Regions from separate parts of the Homo sapiens genome. Here region 2 is linked to region 1. The links are contacts of gene promoters, found by promoter capture Hi-C in blood cells and fetal thymus (Javierre and others, 2016). All regions are on one chromosome and are shown on one strand. The core of a region is centred on a gene start or on the middle of the fragment in contact, and the rest is flanking DNA. Distances in the headings are between cores, read along the strand shown. Region 1 holds the start of STAU1 (staufen double-stranded RNA binding protein 1). Region 2 overlaps SPATA2 (spermatogenesis associated 2).

Region 1 (3,466 bases), core at 549-3,048:
ACCCAAGGAGGTATGGGATCCACACTGCTTGGAAGTTAGAAAGAAAAGATCACTTTTAGCAGAGGGCTGGACAATATCTGAATGTTGCTTACTACTGTCTTGGATGGGCACTAAAGGGACGGTGAAAGTCCTTTGACTATTTTTGGTGTTCTGAAATTCAGTGTCATTGCACTTCACAAGAAGCAATGTAAGGAGGCAAGTGTCCTCCCAGGCTTCGCTAAGGCTCCAAAGCCTTGTTTGGAGGGGCCTCTTCAGACACAGCAGCTCGTATTTTGAATTTATATTCCGTTGGCAAGAGAGATTGAGCAATTATTAGATTGAGAGACATTTAAGAAAGAGAGAATTATTTTTAAATAGTGGGGCGGCAGTCCCAGAGTGAGCGGGAGAGAGAAGCTCTGTGCACCTGCAGTTCCTTCATTCATTCTCAGTTTCTTGGACCTCTCACAACGCGAGCATAATTTTCGCTGAGTGTGCAGAAGTTCAAGATTCTTTTTTTTTTTTTTTTTTTTTTTGAGACAGAGTCTCACTCTGTTGCCCAGGTTGGAGTGCAATGGCGTGATCTCGGCTCACTGCAACCTCCGTCTCCCGGGTTCAAGAGATTCTCCTGCCTCAGCCTCCCAAGTAGCTGTGATTACAGGCGCCCACCACTGCATCCGGCTAGTAGAGACGGGGTTTCACCATGTTAGTCAGGCTGGTCTCGAACTCCTGACCTCAGGTGATCCGCCCACCTCGGCCTCCCAAAGTGCCGGGATTACAGGCGTGAGCCACTGCGCCTGGCCAAGATTCTTTACTGGCCACCCTCTCTCCAACCTCCCATACAATACAGCTGCTAAAAACCACTTAGTTTATCTAGGTCTGGGTGAAATAAATAGTAATCTGGCACTTCTCGTCTTTTTTTTTTTTTTTTTTTTTTTTTTTTTTTTTTTTTTTGAGACCAGTGTCTCTTTGTCGCCAAGGCTGGAGTGCAGCGGCGCGATCTCAGCTCACTGCAATCTCCGCCTCCCGGGTTCAAGCGATTCTCCTGCCTCAGCCTCCCGAGTAGCTGTTTACCTACAGGCGCCCGCCACCACGCCCGGCTAATTTTTTGTATTTTCAGTAGAGACGGGGGTTTCACCGTGGTAGCCAGGATGGTCTCGATCTCTTGACCTAGTGATCCGCCCGCCTCGGCCTCCCAAAGTGCCGGGATTAGAGGCCTGAGCCAACGCGCCCGGGCCATTGTCTTTTATCTCACTACACATTTTTCAATTTTATTTATTGTGTATTTTACTTACACAAGAATGTAAGCTCCACGAGGGCAGGGATTTTTGTCAGTTCACCACTACATTCTTAGCTCTTGGAGCAATGCCTTGCATATGGCAAGCATTTAATGAACATTTACAGATGGAGGAAGAAACAACTGCAGGAAGGAGAGAAAGGAAGGCCAGAGGCAGGACAAGAGGAAGAAGCGACAGCAAGGAAGGAAAAAGGAAGTGGAGGAGGAAAGAAGGTAGGCTGGGTTCTCCCAGACCCGCTTCGAGTCCAGCAGGCAGCGCGAAACTCCCACCAGAACTACAACTCCCGGCAGGCCCCGGGACTCAGGACGGGCCGCTGCGGTCCAGGCGGGACAGGGCGCTCCTCCCGCTGGGCCCCCGGCGTGCCTTGCGAGCGCAGGCTCCGCCGCAGTGCCAGCCGGAACTTGTGGTTCGGACCGTGGGTGGGGGTGGGGCCGGGGCCGGGCCTGGAGGCGGGCGGGGGCCGGGGGCGGGCGCCTGCCCCTCCCCCGTCACTTCCTGCCGGGCTGCGGGCGCCTGAGCGGCTCTTCAGCGTTTGCGCCGGCGGCTGCCGCGTCTCTCTCGGCTCCCGCTTCCTTTGACCGCCTCCCCCCCCCGGCCCGGCGGCGCCCGCCTCCTCCACGGCCACTCCGCCTCTTCCCTCCCTTCGTCCCTTCTTCCTCTCCCTTTTTTCCTTCTTCCTTCCCCTCCTCGCCGCCACCGCCCAGGACCGCCGGCCGGGGGACGAGCTCGGAGCAGCAGCCAGGTGAGGCGGCCGGGCCGGGCCGGGCCTGGTGGGGCCCTCGCGGGCGCCGCCGCGGTGGGGAGGTGGGCGGCGGGTGGGGCCTAGGCCTCGGCGGGCCCGCGCACCCCTCCGCCTTCTCCCGGGCCTCTCTCTAGCCCGCGGGGCCTTCCCGGAGGAGGCGGGTCCTCTTGCGTTCCCTCGCCTCGGGGCGCCCTGAGGCCTGGCCCCGGGCGCCCCCATCCCCTCCAGCCCTCACCGGTGCCACAAACAGGTGCTGCGGCCGCCTTTCCTCGTCCCGCATGGCGCGCGCGGGGATGCCGAAGTTATTCCCGGGGCTGGGGCGCAGGCGGGGGGGGGGGGGGGTCCCTGCTTCAGGTCCCCGAGGGCTGGAGCCTCTCAGTGTCGCCGGCCCAGGTCTGTAGCTTAGTGGTTAAGAGCACGGCCCAGGTGTCCAAAACGGGTGCCGAACCCGGCTCTGCCCCGTTAGGCAAGACACTTAAAAAGTCTTTGTGTCTTGGTTGGAAAAGGGGCTGCTAATACCGTCCCTGCCTCTTAAGGTTCAGTGAAATGGGGCGTGTAAAGCGCTTATCAGAGTGCCAGACCCACAGCGTGTCCCAGTAAACCGTCTGCATAATTTATTAGCGTGATATGAAGGTATAATTTAATGGGCAGAGTGGATAGAAGTTGACCTACCTATCCGTTTGGGTTTCTTAGAGGCTGCAGTGTTCCGCGTGCCCATGTCCAGAGCCAGGGCATTGTTTTCAGTTGTTAACATCTGAAAGGGGCGTACGCTTAATTGGGACACTGTAGTTGACAGTCTGTAAACGATGGATGCTGTTTCTTTCCATCTCCGCTTAGGCAACTGCAGGATATTCACCATCTCCCGCAGGATGAGCAACCTGTCCATTTCTCCCCGCCCCGCCATCATCCAGCTTCTTCTTGTCATTCCATTTCTGGGAAAGTTGCTGGCAGAAGCTTCCCTTGAGTTGAGCAAACCTATCTAGAGCACTTGCTGTGTGTTGGGCTCTGAAGGGGGGTGTACGGAGATGGAAAAATTTGTCTGTCTTGTCTTGCTCTACACCTCGATAAGTTTTTTTTCACGGAAGCTTTGCTTATATTCACCCCTCCCTGTTGGCTGACTTTCCTTTTAAGCCCTTGCCCCGCCTCCGTGTTGCAGTATTGCTTGTGTGGAAGTTTTCTTCTGTTCCGCGAAGATACGTGCTTCAGTCTGTTCTGCCACTGTTCTTCGGCTGTGTGGAAGTTTTTAAGGTCACACTTCTCTTCTGCTTGTAGCTTTCATTGTTAAGAGCGTGGTGGAGTTAAATCAGGTTCCCGGTTGATTTTGGCGTTTCAGGAATCCGTGCTTACCAAGTGTAAATTGCATTGCTACTTGTTGAGGTAAAAACTAAAAATACAGTTGGAGTGTAGAGGGAGCAGTTTCGGTTATCCTGGTGACAGGTGGGATTTTTAG
Region 2 (3,601 bases), core at 625-3,124, 730 kb before region 1:
CGGGTACTGGTCTCAGTACCCCTGCAGCCGGCCGGAGAGGCTAGAGCCCGACGGGGCCCGGCTCCGGCGGCAGCCGCGCCTCTCGCTTGCTTCCCTCGGCCGGGCCGTCCTCGGCGGCAGTGTCAGGGTGAGTGACGGGCGGCCGCGGGCGGAAACTGCCTTCGGGGCTTCCCCAGGCGGAGGGGGCGCCAGACAGCGGCAGGGCTCGGCTGGCCCGGGAGCGGGGTACCCTCACGGCAGGCAGGACTACAGGTGGGCCCGCTGTTTCGGCGCTCCCGGGACCCCCAGCCTATCCTCAGGACCCCCATTCTCCCGGGAGCTGCCTCGCAGGCTCCTGGGACCCGCCGAGGGTGGCTCAGGGCCGCCCAAGAGGAACACCCCTCTTCGGCGACTGGCCAAACAGAAGGACACCCCGATTTCGCCACGAGGCAGTTACCGCGCAGGGGTTCCCAGTTCAGGCTCTGGCGGCACACCTGGGTTTGTACTCACTGTGTGACCTTGGATAAGTCACTTCATCTTAAGAGCCTCAGTTGCCTATTTAAGTGATTGAACCTGGTTGCTAGGGCTGGAGTGGAGATGGAATGAGATCATGCAGGGCCTCTGGCATACAGCAGGCGTCCAATAAGTGATAGTTCCTGTTACTTCATTCAATTCACGAAGCCGTAGGGGGGGCCAGAATTTGAGACTGGGCTGTTTTTCACAACTGACGTGGCCCCCCGAGGCTGTAGGAATGACCGAGCTGGGACTTAGCAGCCGCCAGCTTCTGTCCCCTGCAGGGAGGGAAACAGCTTCCTTCAGAGCTTCTCCGAGAGAGGCAGCTGCCACTAGGGAAGCTTCTTTCAGCACCGCTGAGGTTATTTTCAGAGGTTTGGAAGGACTCTGTGTGAATTTCTTTGGAATCTAGTAGGAGTGTGGGGACCTTCTGGTGTTTCACAGCCAGTGGAAGGTGCCTTGGATGTTTCTCGGAGCCTCTTGCTTGGAACGAGTGCATTGGTGTGGGTGGGGAGGTGGAGGGGGTTGAACTGACTTCCCCGTCTCCTGTTTGGAGGCTGATGGAGCTAGACCAGGGATGTGTAAACCTGTGGACAGGGGCAGTGCACAGACCAAAATAGGTCTGCCTGTGCAGAGAGGGGGCGCCTTCAAATGCTGCTTGGGGAACATTTCTGCTTGAATGGGCCAGCTGAGGTAAAGCCAAGCTAATGCTTAGCTACTCGGAATCACTTCACTTCCATGCAGTGGGACTCTAAACAGATACAGCTTTCCTCTTAGATGTTCAAAAAATAACTAAAGAAGCCACTGGCTCCCTGACTGTGCAATATCTCTTTTTCCATTGACTTGCTTTTCAAGAAGGTACCTAGATTGTGGGTGCAGGAGGTGCTGACTGGAGCCGTTGACTCTGGGCACCTGCCTGTCTCTGTGTTCAGGATATTCACAGTGCTGTTTTTTTGTTTTTTGGGTTTTTTTTTTTTTTTTTTTCCACCAGACTGGCACGGCTTGGCGTTCCAATCCTTGGGTTGCTTGGAGAAATTAGCAGCTTCTGTCGCTGGGCTGTCTCGGTCTCCTGTAACCACGATGTTTTTGCAGAGAGCGTATTTTGTTGTTCTTGCAGAGTGCTGGGAATGAATTGCTGGCTCTGTGCTCAGAAAAAACACCAGCTATGACCAGCTACAAGGCATCTTGTATTCTCAGAAAATGTTTTCAGCAGGGATGATGTCAGCTGCTTCATCACTGGCCGATGTCTCTGACCAGCCTCTTTCCTTGGCCCTTGAGCTTACATCATATAGAGATTAGCTCTCCTAGCCCCATTCGGTGTGGGAAGATGGGAATTTTGCTACTACAGGAATTTTTGTAACTCAACTCTGCTCGCGCCGCCATAAGGCATTCTAACTTAGCCAAACACTTTCGAGTAGAGCTGTCCAGCAGATGCAGCAGGATGGCTTTGCAAGAGTCGGAGTTTTGGCGTTAGACCTAGGTTCAGAGCTCAGATCCACTTCTTCCTAGCCTTACGACTTAGGGTAAGTGAGTTGGCCTCTCCGAGCCTCAGTTTCCTCTTTAACCTTGGATCTATCCTGTGGATTTCATTGGTTTTCACAGAGCAGTTAGCAGAGGGATGCCACACAGTAATCCCTTGGTAAATGGTACTGATGTAACAATAAATGAGTGAGGTAAATTGGAGAAAGCCCAGGCATCAAGGGCCTCCCAGCAAGAGTTCAGATTCCAGCTCTGACCCTTTCAAACTCTGTTGGGCAGGTTGTTTTAATGGGAAGAGCCTGTTTTCCTTATAGAGTTGTGAGGATTAAATGGGATGATGTAGGTAAAGTGGGAAGCCCAATGCTTAGCACATAGTAGAACCTCAGTAATTGTTAGTCTCTTTCTTTCCTTTCCTTATTGACTGATTGAGACAAGGTCTTGCTCTGTCACCCAGGCCGGAGTGCAGTGGTGCCATCATAGCTCACTGCAGCCTCAAACTCCTGGGCTCAGTGGATCCCCCCACCTCAGACTCCCAAGTAGCTAAGACTACAGGTGGGTGTCACCACACCCACCTAATTTTTTTTTTTTTTTTTTTTGTAGAGACGGAGTCTAACTATGTTGTCCAGGCTTGTCTTGCCCTTAATTATCTTTTAGCTTTTACTTTCTTCCGCCTTTTCCCTCACCTACCCAGGTTGGTTTGAGATTTGTTTTAGATAGGCTTCCTGTCCTTATTGTGAGTATTTTGAACATCAGCTGGGCTGTTTGGATCCCTTTCCTTTATTTATTGTTTTTCAGCAACAAACAAGGGTGTGGACTGTGGTGCGATTATAGAGCAGCAGACGCTGAGCCGAGCTTGAGACTGGCTGACTTTGTAAAAAATCAGTCTCTTTGAGTTCAAGGCTGACTTCCTTGGAGAAAAATTACAGCAGTATTCGGAAGCTTAATGTCTCTGTGTTTGAATGGTTCTCAGACTACCAAAAAACAGACCCTGGGGCCAGAGGCGTGATGGCAGCTTCTCTTAGATAAGTCAAGAATGGTAAATGCATGTGTGACTATCCTCTCCAGTGGTGCAATACATTTATTTATGTAGAGATGGAGTTTTTGCTCTGTTGCCCAGGCTGGAGTGCAATGGCACGATCTCAGCTCACTGCAACCTCTCCCTCCTGGGTTCACGCCATTCTCCTGCCTCAGCCTCCTGAGTAGCTGGGATTACAGGTGTTCGTCCAGCTAATTTTTGTATTTTTAGTAGAGGCGGGGTTTCGCTATGTTGGCCAGGCTAGTCTCAAACTCCCAATCTCAGGCGATCCACCCACCTTGGCCTCCCAGAGTTGTAGGATTACAGGCGTGAGCCACCGCGCCTGGCCTGCATTTTTATTTTTTAAGAGAATATACATTTTAAATTGTTTATTTTTTTATGGACAGAACAGTATGAAGTTAGAGCACATACCTACTTTGATACTAGGTGGTATGCTCTTCCAGCTAGAGCTGCAGGCAGGATGTGTCTCCTTTATTGCTGTCCTCTACCTGTCCCACCCATCCCCATTCCCCGACTGGGTCCAGCTCAGGCAGAGGGTGGGGGCTGCAGAAATGCTTGCTGGACATGGGAATCGTGGGGTGGTGAGAGGAATAC

Evidence for each region. Contacts are between HindIII fragments. The CHiCAGO score rates a contact against its expected background, and 5 or more counts as called.
Region 2: a fragment that was not itself captured here is called in contact with the fragment with the promoter of STAU1 in region 1 in 2 of 17 cell types (fetal thymus and naive CD8 T cells); the score reaches 8.7 in fetal thymus.

Annotation. Positions count from the first base shown.
Region 1 is chr20:49,186,666-49,190,131 of GRCh38, reverse strand. STAU1 (staufen double-stranded RNA binding protein 1) reads left to right here and starts at 1,798. Exons shown (of 14, transcript NM_017453.4): 1 at 1,798-2,016. RefSeq lists silencers at 1,525-2,194, 2,425-2,584 and an enhancer at 2,985-3,054. The HindIII fragment of the contact is 4,529 bases long and covers 1-2,972 here.
Region 2 is chr20:49,911,906-49,915,506 of GRCh38, reverse strand. SPATA2 (spermatogenesis associated 2) reads left to right here. Exons shown (of 3, transcript NM_006038.4): 1 at 1-127. Among named protein-coding and RNA genes, the nearest start is that of SPATA2, 1.8 kb to the left of the region's middle. RefSeq lists a silencer at 27-276 and an enhancer at 791-960. The HindIII fragment of the contact is 2,077 bases long and covers 836-2,912 here.